Regions from separate parts of the Homo sapiens genome. Here all the other regions are linked to region 2. The links are contacts of gene promoters, found by promoter capture Hi-C in blood cells and fetal thymus (Javierre and others, 2016). All regions are on one chromosome and are shown on one strand. The core of a region is centred on a gene start or on the middle of the fragment in contact, and the rest is flanking DNA. Distances in the headings are between cores, read along the strand shown.

Region 1 (4,056 bases), core at 806-3,305, 390 kb after region 2:
ACTTTCTGACTCCAGGAACAAAATATCAATTGAACCAATTCTGAAAAAGAGTTCTTGTCCAGACCTTCTTGTTGTACAACCAAAAGACTGGCAGCTGGTGTTTACCTTTTCCCTTAAGGCCCAGAGGTTAGCAGCTTTATAGATAAAGGCAATCCTAATCATAAACCTGACTATATTTGTAGAAAACTAGTAGAGTTAGCCTACCCCTTTTTGCCTTAAATCCTGGTGCTTGATTCTCTTCCTTAATAGTATCCTTTGTGGAAATTTTTCCACAAATTGGCCAAGAATATTTTGGTATTTTTTTCTTACAGTTCCGAGTACTTAGCTCATAGTAAACACTCATTAAGTGTTTTAATGTATAAAGAAGATACTTAAGTCCTTCCTACTTTATCTAATTCGTAATGTGGAGAGAAAGGGGGTCATAAAGGAGTGTAGAAAACCTAAATATCTTTTTTTTTCTGTGTCTAGGAAGAAGAAGCAGGAAGGATAAAAGATTGCTGGGACAACCAGGAAGCACCTGCTCTCTCCACGTGTAGTAATGCCAATATCTTTCGAAGGATAAATGCCATATTGGATAATTCTCTGGATTTCAGTAGAGTCTGCACTACACCTATAAACCGAGGAATTCATGATCATTTGCCAGGTGATTTAGGTTTGAAAACTTGAACGTGGTAGGCATCTGTACAGATCTGCTTCTAAGTAGTGCATGTAAGAGGTCTTCCTTGGAAAGCTTGTGAAGAACAATGTTGAGTTGCTGGCAATACTTGCCTTTTTGTGGTTTAGTTTATGGATTGAATCCCTCTCTGGGTGAAGACTGCCTTTGATTAGGATGTGTAAACCTACTTTATGATACACAGAAAGGTTGGGGAAAAAAGAAAAGGTCACAGATTACACAAGTATTTATATAAAGAGATATAATGTGGATCACATATGTTACAGATTTTCTGGTAGCCATGTTAAAATTAAGATACAGATGAAATTAATATTTTATTTAACCCAATATATTATAATATGACAACATTTAATATGAAAACTATTAATGAGATTTTTTTTATTAGTACTACGACTTCAAAATCCAGTGTGGATTTTACAAGCATATCTCAACATGGACATTTCAGGTGTTTAGTGGCTACTGCACTGGACAGTGTAGCTCTCGAATGTTTTAACAGCTTTTAAACATGAGTCAGCACGCATTTAGTTTCTGTATCTATTGGATACTCCAAGGAATAGTGGAGATAGAGGGCAGCATCCCCTGAAGTTGACTCTTTCCAAGAGGTGTGGATGTCCTAATGGTGTTTAATTTTGTGGGAGTTGCAACCCATTATAAGAATGTTGAAGTGTTCTGGGTTTGAGTTATTTATTTTATTTTATATTTTCTTTTTCTTTCTTTCTTTTTGTTTTTTGGGACGGAGTCTCACTCTGTTGCCAGGTTGGAGTGCAGTGGTGTGATCTCGGCTCACTGCAACCTCCAACTCCCTGGTTCAAGCGGTTATCCTGCCTCAGCCTCCCTAGTAGCTGGGATTACAGGCACGCGCCACCACACCCAGCTAATTTTTGTATTTTTAGTAGAGATGGGGTTTCACCATGTTGGCCAGGATGGTCTCGATGTCCTGACCTTGTGATCTGCGTGCCTTGGCCTCCCAAAGTGCTGGGATTATAGGTGTGAGCCACTGCACCCGGCCTTTATTTTATATTTTGTTTTTCTTTCTTTTTTTTGAGACAGAGTCTAGCTCTTTCGCCCAGGTTGGAATGCAGTGGTGCGATCTCAGCTCACTGTAACCTCTGCCTCCTGGGTTCAAGCAATTCTCCTGCCTCAGTCTCCCAAGTAGCTGGGATTACAGGCACCCGCCACCACACCTGGCTAATTTTTTGTATTTTTAGTAGAGATGGGGTTTCGCCATGTTGGCCAGGCTGGTCTCAAACTCCTGACGTCAGGTGATCCACCCACCTCGGCCTCCCAAAGTGCTGGGATTACAGGCACGAGCCACTGTGCCTGGCCTGTTTCAGTTGTTTTAGATGAAAGAATATATGTTTAATTTTTAAAAATGGTCCTTGAAAACAATTAGCCACAATGGGGATTCTCAAAACAAGGACTGATAATTACAGTCAACCCTTGAGCAACACTACGTTGGACTGTGCAGGTCCACTTACATGCAGATGTTTTTCAACCAAAGCTGGAAAATGTGGTATTCAAGGGATGTAAAACCCACACGTATGGAGGGCTGACTTTTCTGGTATAGGTGGGTTCCTCAGGACCAACTGCAAGACTTGAGTATGTGCGGATTTTGGTATACTCTGGGGGTCCTGGAACCAATTCCCTACATATACCAAAGGACAACTACTGTTTTTAGTTGTAAATTCTTTTATTTATTTTTTTAACTTGGCGTTAGAAATAATTCCCACAAAAATGCAGGAGTATGTGAGCAGTAAATAGCGTAATGTTTGAGGGAGAGGCATATTAAGGGAGTGACTAACTTGTGGCATTTGCTTCTGTCGTACAGGAAGGCAAATGAGAGAAGGGCATACTTGGGGGTGGGGGTGGTTTTTGTCTCTTCTGACTTGTACAAAAGAAAAATGTAAGTCATGAGCTAGCCCAATTCTCTTTTAGTTTACGCTGAGTTAAAAGTTCAGGGAGTCATCTTTCTTAGTTCTAATACATGTTCTGTTTTTCTCCTTTGAGAAAATTGCATGTATTATGTCCCAGTAAGAATGACAGGCCAGGCATGGTGACTTAAGCCTGTAATTAAGGCTGGAGCAGGTGGATCACTTGAAGCCAGGAGTTTGAGACCAGCCTGGGCAACATGGTGAAACCCCGTTTACAAAAAAATAGAAAAATTAGCCAGATGTGGGGTGTGCACCTAGTTGCAGCTACTTGGAGGGTGAAGTGGGAGGATCACTTGAGCCTGGGAGGTCGAGACTGCGGTGAACTGTGGTTGTGGCACTGTACTACAGCCTGGGTGACAGAGCAGGACCCCTGCCCACCTCTGCCAAAAAAAAAAAAAGTATGACACTCAACAATTCAACAATGACTTAAACCTCACTGGGTTGTTTCAGAGATGCTGGAAACTTTTCTAGTTTACAGGAAAATATTTTTCAGCTAATACTAGGTGTTGGACTTCAGGGAAAGGACCCATGATTGATGGGAGAGGAGCTTTCCAGAGTGTATGTTTGCAGCTGTCCAGGGAGCCCAGTGACTTCACTGGTAAGATGCCAGGGTCTGGTGACGATGTTGTTACCATTATACTCTGCCCAGGGTCAGTAGCCGAAGTACAAGTTAAAGACTTCTCGGGCTCTTCAGCTCCTTCTCAGCCTCTTAGAACATTCTAAGAGAAGCAGGAGGAAGATCTTGAGGAAATTGGGAAACCTGGGTTCTAAGCTTGACCCTGGGCAGTGAGATAAAGAGGTCAGTTTTCTCAGCTGCAGGACAGAATGGTACCTGCTCAACCTGCCTCACAGGTTTCTTATGGGGCTCAGATGTTAAGACAATACTGCAGATTTAAGGGAACTCAAGGAATTCTAGGAAAGGTTTCTGTCAAAGGTAGCTGATGTTCTTGAGCCTTTCACGTATACCCAGCCCCTCCCATGTGTGGTGAACTCTCTCTGCTTTCCACTTGTGATTCAGCTCAGGGCTGTGGGCCTGTATTCTCGAATGGTGAAACAAGGATGCCTGGCCTACAGCAGAGAGCATTTTTTCTGTGGTCACCAGCAAAAATACCAACCTTGTGATTAATGAGAAAGTAAACTAGGATATATATTTTTCTATGAAGAACCTTAAGAAATAACCCAAACTTGTAGCTTCTGATCAAAAGTAATTTTGTTCCTTGAAGGAAATAATCAGAATTATGAAAACCTAAGATTGTTTATGGACAGCATTATAACTAGGGACAATTTGGCAACAGAATGTTAAGTAAATGATAGGAGAGCTATACCATGGAATATCATGTACCATAAAATATAATGTTTATAGAAGACTACTTAATGGCAAAGAAAGATAACTACAGTGTCTGAAATGAAAAAAAGCGAAGTGTAAAACAGGTGTAAAAAAAAGTGTAAAAA
Region 2 (3,954 bases), core at 1,197-3,696:
TTCACCATTCCTTATCATGGCCACACCATATACCCTATCATGATGTGGAATTGCTCTACATCTGAAATAGGAAATTCAGACATCCCACTCTCTGGCCACAACCTTTGGTGTTTCTTCCAGCTCTCACTCACATTCCAGTTACACCCGTTATTGAACCTAAGACTGCAGCCCCTTGTCCTCTCTGTTCTTTTCTTCTTTACTTCCTTCTTTACCCAGTTAGACTCTACTTTTGGTCTCCCTCAACCCCTCTCCACCTTTGGTCTTTAATAACTTTAACCATTTCATCAATAACCCTCAACCCACTTAAATATACCTGAATCAATCCAGTTGTCTGCCTTATCTTCAACTTCCTGACTGCTTTGGTAGTAGCACTGGGGCCAAAAAAAAATTTAATTAAAAAAAAAACTTCTTAGCTGGTGAATCCAGGCATCTAAAGTAACGTAACTATAGGCCAGGCGCTAGCTCACGCCTGTAATCCTAGCACTTTGGGAGGCCGAAGTGGGTGGATTGCCTGAGCTCAGGAGTTCGAGACCAGCCTGGGCGAAATGGCGAAACGCCCGTCTCTACTAAAAATACAAAAAATGGGTGTGGTGGCGCGCGCCTGTAGTCCCAGCTACTCTGGAGGCTGAGGCAGGGAGAATTGCTTGAACCTAGGAGGCGGAGGTTGCAGTGAGCCGAGATCCCGCCACTGCACTCCAGCCTGGGCGACAGGCTCTTCCCATCCCCCTGTCTCAAAAATAAACAAAAATAAAATAAGGTAACTATAGATTGGGATCATAGATGATTTCACGGTCTCCCTTAACTGTCTACCGCTGGGTGAGTTGCAATAGTCAGCCCTTTGCCATTCTCAAGAGTCCCAATATACCTTCAACACCTCCCCCGCCTTAGTTAATGAAAGAAATTCCACCTCCCATCACCAAACCTACAAACACAGCTACATGTCCACCTAAGCTTTCCCTTAGGAAGGAAGGAGTGTCTAAGGCCTCCTGTAGAGAACTCAATCTCTACTTGAGCTCAGATCCTACCTCTTCAGGAACCGTCCTCTGCTGTAACCTCTCTTCTCCTGGCTCTTTCCTACCAATCTTCAAATATGATAAAAATAAGTCTCTGAATGTCATGTGCCCCTCCAGATACCAATTGCTCCTTCACAGTGAAGTCACTGGATTATTCTCTACAATTATCTCCATTTCCTTCTCTCCACTAAAACTGCTGTAGCCCGGGTCACCACCACCACCCTGATTTCTAAATCTTGTGGCCACTTCTCAGTCGTTACATGTGACATGTTCTCTCCAGAGTGTTCATCACTGTTGATGTTCCCTCTTGAAGCGCCCTTCTTTAGCTGCCGTTACACCGTACTCCTACCTGGTCAGTGTCCTTTGGTGACTTCTCTACCTGCCCTTGCTGTTCTAACCTGGGCCCTCGTGCTCTTTACACACTCTCTCATCCATTTCCATAGCTTCAATTGCCATCTGCTTTCAGAAGATTCCAGAATCTCTATCACCAGCCTTGATTTCGCAAACTCCAGTCACATATATTCAGTTACCCCTTTAACATTTGTATTTGGATGTCCTGTGGGCATCTCAAACTCATTATGTCCAAAGCTGAACTCCTCACCTCGGCCTCCCAAACCTGTTCCTTGGGCCCCAAACCTGGGCATTTCCTTGACTTTTCCCCCTTATTCGCACATGCAGTCATTCCCAAGTTCTGATCATTTCAGTTCCTGAAGATCCTTGAAATGATCAGCGCTCCACCCTCCCTGCGGTTACTCTAGTTCAGGCCACCCTCTCCCATTTAGGGGGCGGATCTCCCTGTCTCTGGCTTTTCCTCTGTCGGCCACAGTGCAGCCGGTGTCTTTCTAAAACCCAGCAAATTGGGCTGCTAATAATCCCTTGCTTGAAAGCCTTCAGTGACTCCATGATCTTGCCTCTGCTGATTTGTTTCATGTCTCTCCATATCACATGTCGCAGTGTATTTCCTCTTCTTTTACATTGTGGGATCCGCTGCGCCTGGCACAAGGTAGGTGCGCCATCGATACGTGGAAGATTCACAAGGGCCAAGCCGCCACGAGGCTCTATATCGACTTGATGGCCACAGGCAGCGCGTGGGACTCTGCATCTGCTGCTTGGCTGTGGGAGCGAGAAGACACCTGGCCCTGTGCACTCCTTGCCGCGCTCTCCAATTCTGAGAAGTGACAATACCTTTCTTTCCCCGATTAGGAAAGAGGTGACACACCTTCCTATCAGCTGAGCAGGGTGGGCCAAGACACGGTGAGGCCTCAGCTCCGCAGCTCCACTTCCTGGGGCTCGGCCCGTTCCAGAACAAAAGAGACTCGCGCATGTTCTGCGGCCACGAGACTCGCTCCCGCCGGCCTTAAGGTGTCGCCCTCTGGCCAGAGCGGATGCGCCGGGCGGTGGGGCCGCTCCTGCCGGCTACCTGCGCAAGCGCAGAGGGCTCTTCCGGCGCCTTCCCAGGCGGGGATGCTGCGGCTCCGCAGCGGGCTGAGGCACCTTCGGGCAACACCCAATACTCGGGGCTCCGCTCGGCTTCTTTGCGCCGAGATGCCTAAGAAGGCTGGTGCGACGACCAAGGCCAGTAGCAGGTCCCGTGGCGGCAGAGGGGTGGGCCTCAGGGGTACTTGTTGAAGAGCGCGGGAGAAGCGGGGCCCGGGAGTGAGTGGAGGCACTGCCAGCGGCTTGCCGTCTCTCAGTTCCGGGGCTCAGGACAGCCGCCGCCACCCCCAGAGCTGCGGCCTGCTGCCGTCGCCCCGCCTCAGTAGGCTGCGCTGCCGTCCACCTGGTGATTTCTGAGCGCTGGGCCCGGCGGCAGCCGAGCTCTCCTTGGGCTGCGTGTGCTGACCTTTGGCCTCCTACCCGCACTCCCAGTCCAGCAATTCATGTTCCCGCAGCGGCATGACCTGCGTTTCCCCAGGAGGCTGTATTCTGCTTTCTCCTCCCTTGCTTTGGCTGATCGCACCCCTTCTGTCAAGAATACAGCACTCCCATTTCCACCATCTTTGTTTGGCCAACCCCAGTCCGTTTCTCAGACTCAGCTCAAGCACTGCCTCCTGCTGGCAGCATTCTCCAGTGCCCCAATGCTGATTTGCCTGTGGGGTAATGTTCTGTGCCTATCTCATCGGTGCACTTAGCACAGTGTATTATAATTTTGTATGTTCTTTCTCCCTCGCAGCAGTCCGAGCTCCTTGAGAGCAAGGACCATGTACCTTTTCATCTTTACATATCCATTGCCTACATATTTGTTGAACGAAAGTTCCTAGCACAGCCCCTGTCCCATAACAGGCCTTTAAATATCAAGCACTATTTTTTTTTCCTCCCTTTCCCGCAACATGCAGACATACACACTTTCACCAACATTTATTAGCTCCGACTGCATGAGATACAATGATGAATAATAAATGATCCCTGCCCCCAAGGAATTGGAAATACAAAGCAGAGGGAGGAGCAAGCATTAAGGTTTAGAAGCCAGAGTTAGGTTTTCTTGCAAGGGGGGAAAAAACACTGTTGGGTTGATGGGAACCCTTCGTGGGAAAATTGAGTAGAGCCTTGAAGGTTGTGGGAAAAGCTTTCTAGGTGGCCAGAAGTCCCTGGACACCACTGATGAGCCTAGTTTGTCTGTTAAGGGTGAAAGGGGGTAGTGGAAGAATCAAATTAAATGTGTGGGAAAATATTTTGTAACCTGTAAAGTTGTGTGGTTGTCATTTTAGGGTAAAAGCCAGAGCAAGGAACCAGAGAGACCACTTCCTCCCTTAGGTCCTGTGGCAGTTGATCCTAAAGGATGCGTCACCATAGCCATCCATGCAAAACCTGGCTCCAAACAAAATGCTGTAACAGGTATACCTGGACACTGGGGTGGGATTCAAGTGTGAATCAGGTGTCTCCTACAGCCCTCCTTTGCTTTGGTTAGCTGAAAGCTTATTCTATGACAGTTGATTTTTCA
Region 3 (4,178 bases), core at 222-2,721, 400 kb after region 2:
TCTTGGCTCACTACAACCTCTGCCTCCCGGGTTCAAGCAATTCTCCTGCCTCAGCCTCCAGAGTAGCTGGGATTACAGGTGTGCGCCACCATGCCAGGCTAATTTTTGTATTTTTAGTAGAGATGGGATTTCATGATGTTGGTCAGCCTGGACTCCAACTCCTGACCTCAGGTGATCCACCGGCCTTGGCCTCCCAAAGTGCTGGGATTACAGGCGTGAGTGACCGGGCCCGGCCTGAGGATGTTTTTTTCTATTCCTAGTTTATTGAATATTTTTATCATGAAAGGGTATTGGATTTTCATCAAATACTTGTCTGTGTCCATTGAGATGATCATGTGATTTTTTTTTACTTTTGTTCTATTAATATTATATTTTATTGATTTTTTTTCTTATAATGAACCAACCTTGTCTTCTTAGGATAAACCCCATTTGGTCATAGTGTGTAATCCATCTTAGATGCCACTGCATTTAGATTAATAAACAGATAGGTCTATGATTTTGTTTTCTTGTGGTCTCTGCCTGATTTTGGTATCAGGGAAATACTTGCTTCATGACTGAGTTGTAAAGTGTTCCCTCCTCGTCTGCTTTTTGGAAAAGTACATGTGAATAATTGGTATTTATTCTTTTTTAGGTTTTTGGTAGAATTCACCAGCGAAGCTTTCTTGTCTTGGACTATTCTCTGGGAAGTTTGTTGATGACTAATACAGGCTTTTTGTTCATTAAAAGCGTATGCAGATTGTCTGTTTCTTTGAGTTAGTTTTGGTAATTTCTGGCTGTAGAATTTATTTCACCTATGTTTTCTAATTTGCAGGCATATAATTATTCATAGTAATTTTTTTTTTTTTTTTTTGCCACGGAGGTTTGCTCTTGTTGCCTAGGCTGGAGTGCAGTGGGGTGATCTCGGCTCACCGCAACCTCCACCTCCCAGGTTCAAGCGATTCTCCCGCCTCAGCCTCCCAAGTAGCTGATATTACAGGCATGCGCCACCATGCCTGGCTAATTTTGTATTTTTAGTAGAGACGGAGTTTTTCTATGTTGATTGGGCTGATCTCAAACTCCCAACCTCAGGTGATCCACCCACTTCAGCCTCCCAAAGTGCTGGGATTACAGGCATGAGCCATTGCAGCCAGCCCATAGTAATTTATATTCTTTTTTACTTTCTGTAAGGTTGGTAGTATTGTACCCACTTTCATTTCTTCTTGGTTAATCTAGCTCAAGGTTTATCAGTTTTGCAGATGTTTTTCAAAGAACCAACTTCTGTTTTTTTTTTTTATAGTTTTTCTAGACATTATTTCGACTTTAATCTTTGTTGCTTCCTCTACTTGCTTTGTGTTTATTTTTTCTAGTTTCTTTAGGTAGAATGTTAGGTTATTGATATTTAATTACTATTGTTATTATTTTTTTTTTTCTGAGACAGGCTCTCGCTCTGTTGCCCAGGCTGGAGTGCAGTGGCGTGATCACAGCTCACTGCAGCCGCGACCTCCCAGGCTCAAACAATCCTCCCACCTCAGCCTCTTGAGCAGCTGGGACTACAGTTGTGCACCACCATGCCTAGCTAATTTATATTTTTTTTGTAGAGGCAGGGTCTCTCACTATGTTGCCTGGGCTGTCTCAAACTCCTGGGCTCAAGTGATCCTCCTACCTCAGCCTCCTAAAGTTCTGGGATTACAGGTGTGAGCTACGACATTCAGCATAATCTTTAACATAGGATTTTACAACTTTCCAAGTATTATTTTCATTGCATGCCGTAAGTTTTAGTATGGTGTGTTTCTTTATCTCAAAGTATTTTCTCATTGCCCTGTGATTTCTTCTTCGATCCATTGATGAAGAGTATGTTGTTTAATTTCCACGTTTTGAGAATTTTCCAGTTTTCCTTCTGTTACTGACTTCTAATTCTGTTCTTTTGTGGTTGCAGAATGTACTTTGTATGATTTCAGCCATTTCACATTTATTGAGACTTCATGGCCTAACTAACATATGGTCTGTCCTGGAGAATATTTCATATACACTTAAGATTGTGTATTCTTCTTTTGTAGATTGAAATATCTTGTGTCTGTTCTAGTTGTTTTATAGTGTTCAAGTATACAGTTTCCTTCCTGATACTGTCATCTTGTTCTATACATTAAATAAATAAATGAAAATAAAATCAATGATCAGGGTAATATTAGTGAAATGGCAGAATAAGGACCTCTGAAATTCTTCCTACATAAAAACCAATGAGAACACTAGCAAAAAATTGTCACAATAAACTTTGTCAGAACTCTGGAAATTAAACCAAAAGCTTGCAGAAATCTGGGGAGTATTTGTTTAAAAACTAAAAACAAGATAGCTGAATCTTGGTAAGAACAACATTCTTTGTGGCCTTTTAATTTGTATTATTTTCATACCTTCCTCCCTAGCTCTACTACAACCCTGAAAACCAGCAACCTGCATCACAGCAAAAATTAGCAGCCTGGAAGCCACTGAAAGGACAAAACAGTTGGAGCTCAAGCCCCATCCTCAACGAATTGTCATTACTTGACCTTTTACATGGTTACACACAAGGCCCCACTTATGTGGTTGTATTTGACCTACCTCCGAGCTCACCAAGTACAGCCAGCCATTTCCCATTTCCCAGGGAAAGTTTGTTTAAAAAAAAAAATCAGAGGCAATTATTAAATATCCCAGGTGCCTGAGGCATTAGGCAACAGTTTAGGAACTCAACAGGCTAACCAAAAAAGCTTAAAAGGCTGGGGAATGAAATATGAGGCTTTATAAAAAACTCAATATATTCCTGGGAATCTAGGCTAACCTGCATGCTTGAAAGAAAGCATTAGATTAGAAGGCCCTAAGCTCTCTCTCCTGGTTAACCTTGAGGCTCTGTACAAACAAGAAGTGAAGAATACTGCAGAGTTGTAAACTGTCTGGCTCAGTGTGGAGGGCATACTGGGCCCCTTGTCAAAGACTGGGAAACTTACTGGTTCTAAGCATGTAAGGCAGTTTCTGTCCATCATTGCTGAAAGTGAGCTATTGATGTTTCCAGCAATAGTGTTACTGTTGAAGTATCTGTTTCTCCTATCATTTCTGTCAGTTTTTGTTGCATATATTTTGGTGGTCTGTGTTAGGTTCATTGGTGTTTATAATTGTTAAATTTTTTTTGATAGATTAACCCTTTTATTATAAAATGTCCTCCTTTATCTCTAGTAACAATTTTTGTCTTAATGTCTGTTTTGTCTGGTAATAGGCACAGTTATTCTACCTCTCATTTGGTTATTATTTGCAGGGTATACTTTTTTCCATCCTTTCAACCTATTTGTGTCTTTTGTGTCTTTGTTTTTTTCCTTGAGACTTGAGTCTCGCTCTGTCATCCAGGCTGGAGTGCAGTGGTGTGATCTTGGCTCACTGCAACTTCTGCTTCCCAGTTCAAGCAATTCTCCTGTCTCAGCCTCCCGAGTAGCTGAGACTACAGGCACACACCACCACACCTGGGTAATTTTTGTATTTTTAGTAGAGACGGGGTTTCACCATGTTGGCCAGGCTGGTCTCGAACTCCTGACCTCAGGTGATCCACCTGCCTCAGCCTCCCAAAATGCTGGGATTACAGGCGTGAGCCACCGTGCCCAGCCCTATTTGTGTCTTTGAGTCTTAAAGTGTATCTCCTGTTGTGCAGTATATATTTGGATCATGCTTTTAAAAAGTCCATTCTGTCAGTCTGTCATTTATTCAAGAGTTTGATCCATCTACATTTAATATAATTACTGATAAGATATACACCTGCCATTTTTCTGTTTGTTTTCCATATGTCTTGTGTCTTTTCCCCCTATTCTTCCATTACTGCTTTCTTTTGTGTTAAGATATTTTCTAGTATAAAATCCTATGACATTTTAATTTCCTTGTTTCTTTAATTTCCTTGTCTCTTTAATTTCCTTGTCATTCTTATATATATGTTTCTTGTTTTTTTTAAAGAGACAAAGTCTTGCTCTGTCACCCAGGCTGGTGTCAAACTCCTGGCCTTAAGTGATCTTCCCACCTTGGCTTCCCAAAGTGCTGGGATTGCAGGCATGAGCTACTATGCCTGGCCTCTTTTACTATGTATTTTTTTTTTTTTTTTTTTGAGACGGAGTCTCGCTCTGTCGCCCAGGCTGGAGTGCAGTGGCGGGATCTCGGCTCACTGCAAGCTCCGCCTCCCGGGTTCACGC
Region 4 (4,031 bases), core at 64-2,563, 350 kb before region 2:
AGAAGGGGGAAAAAAGGAGGAAAGTTTGAAAAGAAATAAAAGCTATCGAACTTTTTTTTTTTTTTTTGAGACGGAGTTTCGCTCTTGAACCTGGGAGGCGGACGTTTTTAAAAACAGCTGCCTGGAGAAGCGGCCGGACGCAGGGGAAGGCTGCGCTGCCGGAAAGGGTTAACCCCGCGGGCGCCGACATCTGGCAGGAGCGAGGGCGTTGGCAGAGCCCGGTCCGCCCGTACCAGTCTGTACAGGGGAACTGTCCCGCCTGCTGATTTATCATTCCCTAATGTCACGGGGATGGGATGTTGAAATTGTGGCTAGAATGTGAAATACGAAAAACACGAAGATTATGATTTAGCGTCTGGGGAAGATCAGCGTTAGCCTGCAGAACAGCTTGTAAACGGGAGGCATCCTTGGCCCTAGCTTGTGGTTTTTGACTCCAACACTCAAGCTGGGGATCTGGGCGGGCAGAGCTTTCTTGGGTTAGAGCAGACAGGCAAAAGTGGAATTAATAAGAGCAAAACCACTTCTGTGCTGCTATGGGGATAGTGCGGGCGAGCGCCAGGAGGACCAAAGTAAATTTTAATTAAACAGAGACCTGATGTTGAAGGATAAATAAAACAACGTGGGGTGTAAACAGCTTAAATCAGGGATTCAAATGACACCTGCGGGTGTCTAGACATGAGGTGCATCCTGATAATTTATAGTCTCGGAGAAGATGCAGATGAGTAGGATAATATCTGCAAATTTTGCTCCTTAAAAGAAGTAATAGCTTGAATTTTAAGGAGGTACTAAATAAGGGAACTAAGTGGGAGAATGATTTTAACAGTTATCCGTGGAGGAAAAGGGGTTAGCAAAGAAACACAAAACTACATGTGTGTAAATCTTGCATTAAAAAAAGTAAAAGATCAATGCTTTGTGTGATTTCTTGCTTCCCTCCAAGGATTTACATAGTGTGTTGAAGTTTTTCTTTTCTTTCTTTCTTTTTTTTTTTTTTTTTTTTGCATTTCCATCTTTCAGCATGCCCCTATTTACAGGGAAAAATGCAGTTTCCACATTGTTTGTTGGTTATCAAAATAAGCGTTGACAACCGCTCCCTCAATGCTTACAGTTTGTTTTAATTACTTCCTGTCATACCAAATGCATCTACCATATGGATTTTAAGAATTGGCCTCAAGACATGGGCGTGCTGTGTTGAAAGTTAAATAGGACAGCTTGACTACTGAATCTTGAGGTTCATTCATTTGTTCATTTATTTATTCATCCAGAAAAACTACTGCCCCAGGCACTGTACAGAAATGAACAAGTCTGCCTGCCTTCACAAAGCACGCTATCTGCTCAATGGGATGATATGAAAAGTGTGTGTGTCTGTGTGTCTGTGTGTGTGTGTGTGTAGCTGATAGCCAGCTAGAGTACTGAGTCCATTTTGCAACAATAGGTGGAAATATATATAAAGGAGTTATTTTTCTGTCCAGCAATATCGGGCAGTGGAACTTTGCCAGAATTCAGTACTTCAGATAACTGAGGATAATCATTCTTAAGAACCAATTAAAAATTGTAAAAGAATGTTTGCTGGGAATCACTCTAAAATATAGCACTTACTCCTCTGCCTTCCTTTCATTTGGTCATGATGACCCTTGACTACAGTTGCTTTGATACAGGGAGTCAGGGGCCTGGGAGGTTTTTGTTTACTTGTGTGTTTATTGTATGTCACAGTTTCATCCTTATTGTTGTGTGATTTGGGGCCATTAACCTCGCTAACTGTGCTTCTTCATCTGTAAAAGGAGGGGGTGGACTTCACTAGAAGTTCTTTAAAGGCCTGTTCTAGTTTTGATGTTTGTTGCTTACCTTGTGCCATCAGTAAAGTCCCAGTGCCTTTACACCGTGGAAGGTATCGCGCCCCTTTGGAAAACGCCCCTAGTATGTGATGACATGGGACCCTTGTTAGGATCAAGGCTGTGCTTGTTAGAATTGTGTCCAAGGTACCTGTAAGCATGTTCTGAGGGAGGCTGTGTGAAGCTCTTGGAGGTTTCCAGGTCATGAACTCGACGGCCGTTGTGAACTTGTTAGGATGCTCACAGGCTTCTTTTTTTGTTTGTTTGTTTCTCTCTCGCTCCTATTTATTTATTTGGCTTATTTTTGCTTTCGGTCATAGTCTGGAAAATTGAGGTCACTTTAAACCTTATCCCTAGATAAATGGGGTATAACTAGACATATACACCTTCCAGTTGTGCTATTACAAGGCAGAGGGAAATTTTTCCTACTGTGCATCTCTAAATTTCCAGAACAATGGCACAAAATACATTCCACTTTTCTGTGGGTCAGTTTAAGTTAGCTTCTTCTCTAAAACTGCTATCAAGGAATTCAGCAAACATTTATTAAGTAGGCACCTTCTCTGCTCCAGCCCTGGGAGAGTTGCTGAAAATAAGAGAGATGAAAAGCCTGGTCCCTAACAGGGTGAAGTTCCCTGGTATATGCAGCTCACTGGCATAATGTCATGACACAGCTCTGCATGGCCCGCTGGTCCCACCACACTCTCTCATGGGTTTGTAATTCAGATGCATTTGTATGTTTTGCCCCAGATAAAGACCTAAAAAGTGCAAGTGAAATCCCACTGTTCTGTTAAAATAGAAAACGTTTGATGTCGCCTATATTTATGCCTTTTCCAGATATTTTATAATTAAAGGGTTATTGTTATTTGCTATCATAACAATATGATGTAATACATGATTATTGTGGAAATCTTGGAAAATACAGAAAACTTGAAAAAAGGGAATACAAATCTGCATGAGTTGCCCCACTTAGAGGCAACTACTGGCAACATTCTGGCCTATTTCCTTCAGGTCTATATTCTTACTTACTGAGGCACTATGCTAGTGACACTGCAATGAATGACTGCATCCTCCTCTCAGAGCTCACAGCTTAGAGACCTTGTGTTAAGTGTGATGACCTGGAAGTACAAAAAGTAAGTAGGAGGGACTTGACCTCGGGGCACTTCCGTGGACTCTGGGTTTAGGAAAGGGTTTCCAGAGGGAGAGACATTTAAGTTGAGACCTCAGGGCACTTCCATGGACTCTGGGTTTAGGGAAGGGTTTTAAATTGAGGGAGGGACATTTAAATTTATACCTAAAGAATCAAGGGAAGTTGTCCAGGAGATGGAAAGGGTGGCAATGGGGGGAAGGTGTGAGTGAAACGTGGCTTTGGGGTGACTGGAGGGCAGAGGGCAGGGGCCTCGAGGAGGAGGAGTGATAAGAGATGGTGCTGCGGAGGTAAGCCAGGCCCCAGGCAGGGAGCTTATCAACCCAGTTATTAATATTCTGTAGCAACAACTTTGGGTCCTGAGTCTTTCTGGTTTTATTTCATTTTAGATTCTGCACTTCATACCATAGCATAAGCTTGTTTCATAATAATATAAATTATTTTAATGGATATATAATATTCCCCCAATGCATGAGGCGTCATTGACTTAACTGTGCCCCTTTTGTTGAATATGAATCTTCCAAGAATTTAAAACAAAAAAAAGAGTGTTTTTTTTTTTTTTTTTGGGCTTCACATTCCACTCCCCTTATAGTTCTCCATGGTCTCCAGGTAATGGTAAAACTGGAACATTCTAAGCAAGATAGATATATTCATGCTCTTTTACCCCAAATCAGAATTTCGACTATCAACCAGAATCCACTGCCTCATGACTCCTGGCAGCAGCTGTTAAATTCCCTTCCAGAAGTAGAATCAACACAGCTTTCATTTCTTCCTCTAAGCAACCCACTCCTGCATCCAAAGAAAGATAAATGCACAGAACCAGTTTCTAGGTAGTACCAAGTCCCCTCTTCCTTCCTCCACTGGTCTCCCCCTCCTCCCCTTACTCTAAAAAAAAAAAAAAAACAAAACTAGGATCAGAATCAGTTGACAAAATATCAACCTTTTATTAAATAAAACACTTTAGAAGAAAGAATCATCGCAGACAAAAATCGTGTATGACAAAACACACTCTTTCATCCCTCTTAACCCAGGAAAGTTACAAGCACTCATTCATACCT
Region 5 (3,916 bases), core at 825-3,324, 330 kb after region 2:
ACAAAATATGGAAGAAAGTGTGGAGAGCTATAAGGGCATAAAATAGGGAGACCTCATCTAGTCTGGTGCCAGGGAAGTTTTCCCGGAGGATATGAGACTTGAGCTGAAGCCTGAGAGATGAACATGAATTATGCAGGGACAGAAATGGGAAGAACTGCTCCACGCAGAGGAAACAGCATCTGCGAAGACCCTGGGTTAGGAAGTGGAGTGGGATTGGGGCCTGGAAGACAAGGGGGACAGTGATGGGAGATGGGAGGTAGACAGCAAGCAGATCATTCAGGGACTTACAGACCATGGTGAATACGATGGTCTCCATCCTGAAAGCAATAGGAAGCTTTAAGTTTTCAATGCAGTAGGGAGGTGACATGGTCATACTGTAAGCATACTGTGTAGGGAATCCACTTAAGAGGCAAACTGGTCCTCTTGCTTTTTAGACAAGTTTCATAACCTGTCAATTCCCTCATCAGTGTGAGGATGATGCAGGGCTGTCATGAGGATTGTTTTCTGGTCTATGAAGTGTATTTGGAATGAAAGCACAGAAAGTCCACTGGCCAACCCACCCATTTTCTGCCTCTCCAACCCTCCCTGCAGCTGGAAGTGCTGACCAACCTGGCCAATGAGACCAACATTCCTACTGTCCTACGGGAATTCCAGGTACAGGCCAGCTCCCAGCCAGAAGGGCCTGGGAGAGGGGCCCATCAGATCCTTGTGCCCTGGTGGGTAAACCTCCTCTTATGAGCCCAAGGCTGGAGAAACTATTATCTTACATTCCCGTTCCAATGTGTTTGGCTGGCTTTGGGCCAAGGAATCACTGGATTGGGGGTGGAGTTGTCACCCCCTTTCCCAAGTCTTAGTCACCGGCATGATAAGCCATAAAATGAAAGGCCACAGCCTTCTTGAAGGTCACCCTCAAGCCTGCAGAGTCACTGAGGGATTTCTTTGTCATATCCCACAGACCTATATTCGCAGCATGGACAAGGACTTTGTGGCAGCCACAATCCAGGCCATTGGACGCTGTGCAACTAACATCGGCCGAGTCCGTGACACCTGCCTCAATGGCCTGGTGCAGCTGCTGTCCAACCGTGATGGTCAGTGTTTCCCTGAGTGTCTAACCGTGATGATCAGAGGGTGTCTGCCTGCAGGTCTGACTCTGCTGGCCACTGGATATCCACCAGTCTGCCTAGACACAATGTGTATCCATTGGTCTGTCTGTCTTGATCAGGGCCCAAGTGTTCCTACACCTCTGAGGGCTGCTAGAGAACTGAAGGGGGTTGAGAGAAAGAGCCAAGGGCCTGGGGCACTGCAGGTGTGTCTGTCCACCTGAGTGTGGCCATCTGACTGTCTTGGGGTCCACACACTCATTTTTGTTCTGTAGAGCTTGTGGTTGCAGAGTCAGTGGTCGTCATTAAGAAATTGCTACAGATGCAGCCAGCACAACATGGAGAGATCATCAAACACTTGGCAAAGCTTACAGACAACATCCAGGTGAGGGAGAAGCCATATTTTCACTCCCCACTTCAAGGTCCTCCCCATGATTTCAAGACTGTATAATTACATATGCTAGCCTTATCAAAAGTAACTTCCAAACCTTAGGTCTTCAGGTGGAAGGAGCAGAGACACTGGACCATGTGACCCTGACCTTGTTACCCCTGATTTGCTTTCCCTTTGGAGACCCTCAATGAGCACGATGGACTTTACTACTACTCTTGTTTTCTCTCTAAAGCTCTAGCCAACCATGGTTGAGTGACAAATCTTGTGTTTTTCTATCGCACTGCTAAGCTGAAACATCTAAACAAGGCATTCCCAAAGATTCTGGAGAGTAACATGGAAATAAAGTACTGAGGGTACAATGAATCCAGAAAATCAATCTTTTACATCATGACTGACTTAGGGTCTTGAAAGCTCTATGCTAATGAAGCCCTAGGGAAGAGGGGAAATGCTGTCTAGGAAATGTCTACCTTTTAACCTCTCTCTATCTCACCACCCCCAACTCCCATTTCCAGAGAACCCATAATACAACAGGCCAGCACAGATGAGGAGTGCTGTTTCCCTGGAAGTCCACAATCCTACCCACCCACTTTCCCGTATTTACCCATCTTCACTCCTCTCCCACAACCACAGGTGCCCATGGCCCGAGCCAGCATCCTGTGGCTCATCGGAGAGTACTGTGAGCATGTCCCCAGGATTGCACCTGATGTCTTAAGAAAAATGGCCAAGTCATTCACAGCAGAGGAGGATATTGTCAAGCTGCAGGTCATCAACCTGGCAGCCAAGCTCTACCTGACCAACTCTAAACAGGTAAAGATTAAGAGATGACCCCCCAGATACTCTGGTCCCCAGAAACTCCCTAGACAGTATTCTTTTGGCCCTCCCTAGGCAGGGCTGAACTCTAGCTCCTATTTTGGAAAAGAAGAATCAGGGAAGGTGGCTGGTCTGCCCACATAACCAATGCTACCCCAGTGCCCACAAAGACCTTGTAGTGCTGGTGGTCACTGTTGAAGAGACTCTCCTATGAAGCTGTGACCTCCAGTCTGCTAGTACAAGAGTCCTGTCTGCCACCTTGGAACTCTGGGGCTGTGAAGAACCACAGTTGATTGGGATAAGGGAAGGGCCCAACAGTGGCAGGTACTGATGGGAGAACATGCATCCCAGATGTGGTCTGTGCTTCTTTCCAAAGCTTGACAATGCTTGGCCAGTCTGTGCCAAAGATAAGGGGGTGAGTCTCTGCTTGGGCTTGGGTGGTGCTGGTGGCCACTGTCATTCCCAAGGTGAAAGGTTATAAGAGATACACAGCCAAGGATGAGGCTCAACTAAGTTGTAGTATCAGGGTGTTCAGAGCCTCCTAGCTGTCTGGCATCTCCTGAGATGGTTCCAGGAGATTCTCCTAAAATGAAGCATAATGTGCTGAGCTTTTCAAGGTGTCAGGGACATCAAACACCATGACGATTTCCACACTCTCCCACTCAGTTAAGCAGGACAGGGATTGGCAAACTACTGCCCATAGGCTGAATTTGGCCTATTCCTGTTTTTGTAATAAAGTTTTGTTGGAACACAGCCCTGCTCATTCATTTACAAATTACCTATGGCTGCTTTTGTGCTACAACAGCAGGGTTAACTAGTTGCAACAGACTGTATTGCCCACAAAGCCTAGAATAGTTATTCTCTGGCCCTTTTATAAAAAGACTCTGCCAATCCTTGAAGCAAAACCTCTGGCTAGGTGGCTGGGGTCTACAGATTTATAGCAGGGATATCCCCTGGAGACTGTAGCATCCCTGCCATGTCCACTGTGCGTGGGAGTCTTTGGATGGTGGCACTTATCTTTTTCAGTGGCTTCTTTGATCCATTGTGGCCAGAGTGAGCCCCAGAGGCTCAAGGTGAGGTAGGCAGGGCCACCAAGTGCTGTGACTGTAATCAGGAGTCAAAGGACAGCAGCAACATGTGGAGGCAACTGAGTCTGTATAATTAAATATGCTAGCCTTATCAAAAGTAACTTCCAAACCTTAGGTCTTCAGGTGGAAGGAGGAGAGACACTGGACCATGTGACCCTGAGCTTGTTATCAGTGTTGTGGGCAAAGCAGATTGGAGAGAGAGAAGTTAGAGGGGGAGAGAGAGAAGTTAGAGGGAGAAAGAGCACCATGGGGAAGCGTTCAATCGTTGAAAAAATATTTGTATACTTCCTTTGTTCAGGTGGGAGGAAGGAGCAAGTGGGAGGAATGTTTGAAAAGATGAAGCAGCCTGGGTGGGGAGCCACCCAGGTAGGTGGGAGTCTTGACATGCTCAGCAATGAGCCAGAGTCCTAAACCCCAGGATGGTGAGGTTGGCATGTTTTCATAAGCCTGGGCCTGTCCACATGTCATTTCCCCCAAGTTGTCACTGTGAGCTACATGTGCATTTGTTCATTTATTTAACATATATG
Region 6 (4,049 bases), core at 1,303-3,802, 460 kb after region 2:
TGCTGACCTGAACATGCTCTGTGTTCTTGCATAGAGAGCTGTGGTAATGGTGGGATCCTCTGTCTCAGCTTGCCAGTCCTTTCCTTCACCAGGGTGGGAGGGAGGCCCACAACCCAGGGCATCTGCATAGCAAATGCTTCCACTCAACACGACTTTTCAGGAGTAAAACAAAAATGTATCTTATACACAAGACCTTCTTTCTTGGAAGAAACGCCCTGCTGCAAAGCCAAGGCTGAGGAGTGGCCACCTAAGGGATATTAATGCGATTTTTCCTCTCATTGGGAATAGGGTATGTGTATCTGGTCTTCGAACTAGAGAAGTCTGTCCGATCCTTGCTTCAGGCTTGCTCTCATGACCCGCTGAGCCCAGATGGCCTGAGTGAATATTATTTCAAGATGTCCAGCCGAAGGATGCGCTGCAAGGAGGTGAGTTAGCGTGATGTCCTTTCTGGATCGAGGGTCTTGGAATATTGAGGCACTGGATTTTCTTGTGGTAGGTGGATAGGCAGGCTGCAGGCAAGGAGTATTCCTGCTGAGGCAAGAAGGCTCTTCTTGTCCCACAATAAAATAGCAGTATCCTCTCAATTACATTAAAAAAAAAAAAAAGCAACCTTTGGGACTTAATGGGGTGTGTGCATGCACACATGCGCATGCCTGCCCATGGTAATCAAACTGTCTGCCCGTCTTTATTCTGCTCTTCTTTCTTGTAGCCAACACTTTGGTTTCAAACCTCTTGTCTTAGAAATGAAATTGAGAACAGCAAACTTCTCTACTTGGACTTAACTGATAAACCTACAGCTGTTTTTCCCTGGTCCTGCCCTTCCTGTGCCTTGTGACCTCCCAGTCTGTGGGGGTGAATTCCTCTTTAGCCCACACCCACCTGTGGGTCACTTCTTCATTCTTATTCAGGGCTTTATTTAGTTTTGTGGGTTTTCCCCATAAGATTCTCTCTTCCTACGCTTTTTCTAATATCAGCCTTATGTATCCTTGGCAGCATGGGTCTCTAACGAGTTTATCTCACCTGGGGATCTCATTGCACATTCTTGGGCCTTATCCCAGACTTACTGAATCACTCTGGGTGGAATTTAGGAATCTCCAACTGAATAAAGATCCCCAGGTGGTTCTAGTGGGTAGTGTTTGAGAACCACTTGTCAAAGCAAGTTTTGAGCTCAGGAATCAGTGCGGTGGTAAAATCGGATTTGAGAGCACACAACTTTTGTGACATTGGACTAGATATTTAATATCTCTGAAACTTTGTTTCCTCTTCTCTTCTATAAGATGGGAAACTAAAATGCCTATTTTAGTAAAAAAGATCAGTGGTTGCCAGGGGTTTAGCAGGAAGGGATGAAGAGACATAGCACAGAGGATTTTTAGGGCAGTGAAACTATTCTGTATATGGTGGATACATGTCATTATACTTTGGTCCAAACCCATAGAAGGTAAAAGAAACACCAGGAGTGAACTCTGATGCAAACCATGGACTTTCGGTGGGGATGATGGGTCAGTATAAAAAAATGTTCCACTCTCATGCGGGATCCTGATAGTGGGGAAGTCACGCAAGTGTGGGGGCAGAGAGTATTTGGAGAATCCCTGTACTTTCTGCTCAGATTTACTGTAAACCTTAAAGCTTCTCTAAAAAAATCTATAGGGTAAGAGGAGAAATGCCTATTTTATTGGGATGGTCACATTAGATTTAAAATAAATCCATGTAACAAAGCTGGCTCTTGTTCTGTGTTAGAGAGAGGGCAGGCTCATCCTCTGGCTGCCCACAGTGACCCACAGCTTCCCTACCTTCTCTGCTTCTTTATTCTCTGGAGCTTGTGTAGTCTTCCCACCTTAGTATGTTCTAGGACTTAATTAACATGCTCCTTTTTCCTCCCCTCCTGCTTTCACAACCAGAGATGGCCATATGCATATCACAGAGCCCTTCCCCTTCCTCCTCAGTGCCCCTGTAGACACCATCCTGTCTCCCATTCCCTCCCATCACCTTACAGGGATTTAATCTTTCTTTGATTCACTGGCTATAGGCTGATGCAGTTCTCCTTCCTCTCTACTTTTCTTTTTCCTTTGTGTTCCTCTCCCCGCCAGCACCAACATAGCCAATATAGCCAATCTTTGACTCCCTTCTTCTTTTCTAGTTCAGATAAATGACTCACTTTGTGGCTTCTCTCACCTTTAGACCCAGATTCACCTTTCTAGCCTCATGTCCTACCTGAGCCTCACCTTCCTGTGGGATCCTTCTTCGGGATGTCCTGTAATCCCAAACTCTTTTGTGGGCAAAATTGGCTTTTTCATCTTCCAGTGAAATTGGCTCCCCTCTTGTAACTTCTGCCAGGTCCTCTCATCCCAAGACCGTGTAGGCCCAGCACCTACCAGGCCTGATTCTTCCTTGCTTGCCCATCCTGCTTATGCTGTCTGAGTACTGCAGACTCTTCTGTTGAAGAATCTCTTTGGTCTTGGCCTGTTCTCTGCTCGTTGCCACCAGCCTTGTCCAAGTCTTAATCACCTGTCCTTTGAAACTACTGTTTTTGCCTCCTTGCTGGTTTCTGCCTCAGATCTCTTCCTGCTTCAAGACATATTTTTAGATCTTCACTTCATTCTGGACTCCTCCACCTGCTCTACAAGGTTTTGTTCCAGGTTCAGGAGATTCAGAGGCAAAGGACATGGTCAGCCCCAGCCCTTTAAGACTCCAGGGATCTTGTATGTGACTTTCTACCCAACCTCTCGCCAGTCATTTCCACTGCTCTGGCACAAACCCTCTGAAGGCTAGGTTGGGCCAGTAACCATCTCATACAAATATCGTAAGCACTCCCACCCCTCTGTCCTTCAGGATCCTAGCCTTTAATTTCTCTGTGAGTCCTTCCTTTCTTGAGGACTTCAGATTATGCCCTTTTCATCAGTGTCCACAGCCCTTTGTTGGAACTACACAGTTGGAGGTTGAAATAGAATGCTGGGCTCCTGGGTTTGGCCATGTGGTACTTTTTTGCTTACTCTCCAGCATGAGTGAGTACTGTGTCCACTTCTACCATTCTGGACACATGGACTCAGTAAAATTCAACTCCAGTTGGGGTGGAGTCAGGGTGGTTTATTGGACGCCTGTGTGCCTGAGATTGGGCAACAGCACCTTTTCACCCCTGTAAGGGCGTTAGCTTAGCTTCAGTATCTCCAGAGCACGTACCTTGCCGTGCAAGCACCTCTCTCTCTGTGGCTCTCTGCCAGGGCTGATACACCTTTGGGTGGTTTTCAGGTGCAGGTGATCCCCTGGGTATTAGCCGACAGTAACTTTGTCCGGAGCCCATCTCAGAGGCTTGACCCCAGCAGGACGGTGTTTGTCGGTGCTCTGCATGGAATGCTAAATGCTGAGGCCCTGGCAGCCATCTTGAACGACCTATTTGGTGGAGTGGTGTATGCCGGGATTGACACAGATAAGCACAAGTATCCCATTGGTAAGTGTCCCACTTCTGTGTGCGAAAGCTTGGTTGGCCCCTGGGAGTAGACCAAGATTGTGATACTTCCCCATGGGAGTGAGGAGAGAGGCCTGACCCAGGTCTGCAGATCAGCATATACCAGCACCATAATATCTTTTTCTAGACAAGTCACGAGTACTGGCCCTTCTGTATCTAGCCCTCTACCCACCATCTCCCACGCAGTGGGAGAAAAAGCTATTGGAGACTACAGGAGGTGATAAGAAGTGAGAGTGAGGTAGGAACTTTGTTGGAAGCTCAGAGTTCACAGCGAAACCAGTTTGGAACAGACAACAGGTACTATTTCATGAAAAGGCTGCAATTCTCTGAACTTGCCTGGAGTTTTTTATTAAAAGTTCTTGAAAAGCTCTGGCATTGTCTAAGGTCAGAGACCAGGTCAGGCTGGAGGAGGACTTTCTGAGTGAGTCAGGCAACAGAGTGTGGCCTGTGCTTTCCTAACTCAGAAGTCTGTGGGCCTAACCACTAGGTTTTGATCAGCTCCTCTGAGAAAGGAGGTCAATTCGCCAGTCCTGGCAAAATGTCAATGATGAGGTATGGAGGTGGAGCAGAGCCTGACCTCTGTGAT
Region 7 (3,903 bases), core at 273-2,772, 440 kb after region 2:
CATGGGCTTGGATGTAACACTTTGTGGGGTCCTTCTCTTCTAGACTGTGCCTACCCTGAGGCACTATCCCTTGATGGGGAGGAAGACTTTGGGGGCAAGATGAGTGTTATAAGTGCGTTTTTCTCATACCCCAGTGCTACCCTTTCTCATGTCCAGGGCTACCCTTGTCCTGCTTGCAATGTCTTAAGATCTGTAGTGGAACAGAAGGGCTGTGGAAACTGTCCTCAGTATCCTGGAATGGGGCATGGAGTGACTAATAACCACCATTTATCGACTAATTTTTGTGCTAAGTACATCACATGATTTTAATGCTTGTACAGATGAGGAAATAGGCTCATGGAGGTTACAAAGTGCCCAAAGTGACACAACTCCTGGAAGGCTCAGAATTCTAACCCAGGTCTCTGGTTACAAAATTCATATGCTTCCTGTTACACCTGTGGTCCTGTTAGCAGAACTCTAACATATTGGGTGAGAAAACTTAAAGTAACCATATACTACTATAGGGGCTATTCAGCTAGAGGTGATGTGCTCCCTTGATGAGATCTCTGAAGGTGAGGGCATATGGTAGACAGTTCCAGCCCCATCTTGATCCCTGAGTCTCAGCTTATCAGCTGTACCACCCGCTGGATTTGTCTTCCTGCCTTCCCCCTTGCGACTCTTTTGTGTGCAGCATTATGCAGCAGAAGAGTGAGGTGACTGAGACTACTGTGGGGGACCTGGAAACAAGGACTCTCTTAATGATGCCTTGTACAGAAGCCCAGTGGGCAGACCAGATGTGCAGTCTAAGGTTGCCAGAGGACATGTCTGTTTTTTGCCACTCCCCTTTAGAAGTCTCTTGAGGACTAACCTGTTCACACTCTGGTTTTCTTTTCTTTTCTTTTTTTTTTTGAGATGGAGTCTCACTCTGTCGACCAAGCTGGAGTACAGTGGTGCGATCTTGGCTCACTGCAACCTCTGCCTCCCGGGTTCAAGCAATCCTCTGCCTCAGCCTCCTGAGTAGCTGGGATTAGAGGTGCCCACCACCACACCGAGCTAATTTTTTTTTTTAAAGTAGAGACGGGGTTTCACCATCTTGGCCAGGTGGGTCTTGAACTCCTGACCTTGTGATCCACCCGCCTCGGACTCCCAAAATGCTGGGATTACAGATGTGAGCCACCGTGCCTGGCCCACACTCTGGTTTTCTACCCTAACTGCTAATCAGTGAATGGAATGTTCCCTGTGCTGTGTCACTTGCAGGCTCCCCATTGATCTGCAGGCTACATCAGCCTAAGATGAGTGGGGAGTCTTAAGCAATTTTCATCTGAAGCTTCTTCCAAACAACCATTCTGAGGCGACATTCAGAACGGGATTAGGTCTCTCTTATGTGGAACATGGACTTCCTCGGCCCAACCAGGTCTCTTGTAAATCTTCCTCAACTCCCAGTTCTCCAATACTATATTCCCAGCAGTACAACAGTGCTTGGCTAATGGCTGTCTAATACATATTTTTTGAATGAATGATGAGTGCTGAGCCACTGTGTTTATCCTGGTTGTTTTTTAACTGCAGAGTTCAGACAAGGTCTCTCCCATTCTTCTGCCTCCTGCTTGTGTTGATTTAGCTGGATGGACAGATTCTTCAAAGATCAGTATCTTGGGCCCTGTAGCTTCTAGGGGACGGTGATGTAATTATACAAAGTTTTCATCATACAGTGGAGCATGAGCTGTATTGTGGAGTCAAGTAGTCTATTTGGGAAAGCTTTCAGTGCAGAGAGGAGGGAGAACCTGGGAAGCAGTGTGGCCAGGGAGGCCTCCTAGGTGAGAAAGAAGTTGAGGTGGTTAGTGACAGGGGCAGGATGTGTGCTGACCTTACAAGGGACATGAATATGTCTTTTCTACAGGTAATGGAACTTGCCTGATGATCAAGACTGGGAGTTATACTGGGGAGAAGGGCTGTGTTTGTCACTAACTTGAACTTGTGGGATCCACAGTCGGGGGGAAGTCCACACTCTGTTTACCGCCACAGTAGAGATATGGTATAGAGTTGCAGATTTGGGGTCACAGGCAGAGTGGTCTGTTTTCATACATGGAATGAATGCTACTCTCCCCCCTTCCTATTCCTTCAGAGAGATCCTGAGTAAGCAACCTAGAACCAAGGATGGTGATAGGGAAGAAGGGTTCCAGGTATACGGCCTTATATCACAGGCTAGAAATAATGGCTCCTGGTCTGGATTTTCCCCGTTAGATTTTTTCCCCCATTAGACTATTCCCATTAGATAACAAATATCTGACCATCATGTCTTGGGGCTAGTCTCTCCTTCAGCTAAGCTCAAGCTCAGATGGTCTTATAATGCAGGCATTCAGTGCCAGGCTCTTGTTGCCATTGCTAATGCTGCCATCACACTCCAGGTGCCTTTGTACTCTTGGGGAAGGCTTCCGAAAATTTGAACAGTGACTCAGCTGTAAAACCGACAGGAGCTGGCATAGAAGGGTGAAAGTAGAGAAAATTAACAATCAGTCTAAAAATATCACTGCTGATTTGGTCTCTTATACCCTCTGAGGTAGCATTAATGAACTGGAACCCTCTGCCAGGTCCTCTCCTCCCCATGACTTCCCTGAGAGATGTCTGTAGCTGATTTCCTGCCAGCATGTGAATGGGGATGGGTACGTCTGTTCTAGGAAGAGCACAATGTCTTACCCATTTTTAGAAGATAGGAATTTGCTGGACACTTGGACACCAGAGCTGGAGGCACTTGGTAAACCTCAGACTTTCCATGATCCCTTGTGTTCTGGAGGCCAGGAAAGAACAGAGCAAAGAGGTCAGGGCCTTGGCCGTTATTGGAGATTGACTCTAGGACTTCTCACCACCCCTCCCCCTCCTCTAATCCATCTAGGTTAATACTTGACATTTGGAATTATGAAGTTGTGTGCCCCATGATGGGGAGTGGACTTTGAGATGAGACACTGGCCTGCATTATAAGGGACCTGTCATTTCCACTGGATTTTAGTTTGTGTGGCTTAAAGAGAATGCCTTTCCAGTTAGGTATGCTCGTGGCTTTGAATATAAATGGGAACAGTCTAACGCTAGCTATTTTGCTCCTTTCCTTCTGATTCCCAGCTGGTGGAAATCGGTGCTGCGTACTCAGCAACCTTACATAGGGCAGGTATGGTCTCATGAGCTGGGAGCAAGACAGGTTTTCTTTCTTGAAATGAGGTCCCCCCACTTCCCTTTGTCTTTGCTGCTTTGCTGCTTTCTTTCCATTGTCTTTGCTGCTTTCCTTCCTTTGATCTGTAGACACTCAGAGAACTGCCTGGCCAGACCCTATAGAGGTACAATTAGGTCACTCTAGGGCATCTGACCATGGGTGGCAGTTTCCACAAAATTCACTTGTTCTGTGGGTTGAAGGAAATATCAAACCAGCTGGCAAGTTCTAGGCCTCTTGTCTTCTTGGTATCTTCTAGTCAAATTTACAGTATATCCCTTCTGATTTAATATTTGCAGGAAACTGATGCATGGAGATGCTGACATCCCACGTGTTAATTCTGGGGCACCCTGATCCTATTCTCTAGGATGGCATTGCCCCTTTCTGAGCCATCAATCCAAGTCCTTTCCCCGTTTTTCTATGTGGTTGGTATATAATTCAGTGAGACACTCTTTCTTGCTCCTGTACTTGAATGTAGGAGTGTATTGCAGTGGCCCTGAAGATCCCAGTAGAGTCTGGGGAGGGTTGATTAGGACAGAGTGATTTCCACCCTGCCCCTCCTCAAGCAGAGGAGCTTTCTTCAACCTTTTTCTCTTTGAAGAAATTGAGACTCAGGGAAGAAGTATTGTCGCAGATGTGATGCGGTGAGTCACTGGTTTTTAAACCTCTGTTTTGGCGATGGGCTGGGTAGGGATGAGTTAAGGTTTATTCCCCTAAATCTGTAT

The links. Contacts are between HindIII fragments. The CHiCAGO score rates a contact against its expected background, and 5 or more counts as called.
Region 1: a contact is called between a fragment that was not itself captured here and the fragment with the promoter of C15orf40 in region 2, in 1 of 17 cell types (naive CD8 T cells). The highest score is 6.1, in naive CD8 T cells.
Region 3: a contact is called between a fragment that was not itself captured here and the fragment with the promoter of C15orf40 in region 2, in 1 of 17 cell types (total CD8 T cells). The highest score is 5.0, in total CD8 T cells.
Region 4: a contact is called between a fragment that was not itself captured here and the fragment with the promoter of C15orf40 in region 2, in 2 of 17 cell types (M2 macrophages and M0 macrophages). The highest score is 5.5, in M2 macrophages.
Region 5: a contact is called between a fragment that was not itself captured here and the fragment with the promoter of C15orf40 in region 2, in 7 of 17 cell types (non-activated CD4 T cells, total CD8 T cells, naive CD8 T cells and 4 more). The highest score is 11.0, in non-activated CD4 T cells.
Region 6: a contact is called between a fragment that was not itself captured here and the fragment with the promoter of C15orf40 in region 2, in 16 of 17 cell types (naive CD4 T cells, naive B cells, total CD8 T cells and 13 more). The highest score is 27.5, in naive CD4 T cells.
Region 7: a fragment that was not itself captured here is called in contact with the fragment with the promoter of C15orf40 in region 2 in 14 of 17 cell types (non-activated CD4 T cells, naive B cells, naive CD4 T cells and 11 more); the score reaches 10.0 in non-activated CD4 T cells.

What each region holds. Positions count from the first base shown.
Region 1 is chr15:82,623,780-82,627,835 of GRCh38, reverse strand. CPEB1 (cytoplasmic polyadenylation element binding protein 1) reads left to right here. Exons shown (of 13, transcript NM_001365242.1): 3 at 469-643. Among named protein-coding and RNA genes, the nearest start is that of CPEB1, 22 kb to the left of the region's middle. The HindIII fragment of the contact is 2,646 bases long and covers 733-3,378 here.
Region 2 is chr15:83,010,131-83,014,084 of GRCh38, reverse strand. C15orf40 (chromosome 15 open reading frame 40) reads left to right here and starts at 2,446. Exons shown (of 4, transcript NM_144597.3): 1 at 2,446-2,588; 2 at 3,722-3,848. The coding sequence starts at 2,478. LOC124903542 (a long non-coding RNA gene) reads right to left here and starts at 2,344. Exons shown (of 2, transcript XR_007064742.1): 1 at 1,026-2,344. RefSeq lists an enhancer at 2,209-2,268. The HindIII fragment of the contact is 2,628 bases long and covers 954-3,581 here.
Region 3 is chr15:82,606,733-82,610,910 of GRCh38, reverse strand. All of the region lies in intron 3 of CPEB1 (cytoplasmic polyadenylation element binding protein 1), which reads left to right. Among named protein-coding and RNA genes, the nearest start is that of CPEB1, 39 kb to the left of the region's middle. The HindIII fragment of the contact is 1,624 bases long and covers 660-2,283 here.
Region 4 is chr15:83,361,841-83,365,871 of GRCh38, reverse strand. It overlaps LOC105370934 (a long non-coding RNA gene), which reads left to right. Exons shown (of 3, transcript XR_932546.2): 3 at 71-834. Among named protein-coding and RNA genes, the nearest start is that of BNC1, 79 kb to the right of the region's middle. The HindIII fragment of the contact is 4,157 bases long and covers 1-3,391 here.
Region 5 is chr15:82,674,843-82,678,758 of GRCh38, reverse strand. AP3B2 (adaptor related protein complex 3 subunit beta 2) reads left to right here. Exons shown (of 27, transcript NM_001278512.2): 11 at 592-654; 12 at 956-1,088; 13 at 1,376-1,485; 14 at 2,122-2,298. The region is part of intron 3 of CPEB1-AS1 (CPEB1 antisense RNA 1); the gene reads right to left. Among named protein-coding and RNA genes, the nearest start is that of CPEB1-AS1, 29 kb to the right of the region's middle. The HindIII fragment of the contact is 1,210 bases long and covers 1,470-2,679 here.
Region 6 is chr15:82,548,856-82,552,904 of GRCh38, reverse strand. It overlaps CPEB1 (cytoplasmic polyadenylation element binding protein 1), which reads left to right. Exons shown (of 13, transcript NM_001365242.1): 9 at 289-425; 10 at 3,247-3,445. Among named protein-coding and RNA genes, the nearest start is that of RPS17, 10 kb to the right of the region's middle. The HindIII fragment of the contact is 1,847 bases long and covers 1,629-3,475 here.
Region 7 is chr15:82,564,621-82,568,523 of GRCh38, reverse strand. All of the region lies in intron 4 of CPEB1 (cytoplasmic polyadenylation element binding protein 1), which reads left to right. Among named protein-coding and RNA genes, the nearest start is that of RPS17, 26 kb to the right of the region's middle. The HindIII fragment of the contact is 428 bases long and covers 1,309-1,736 here.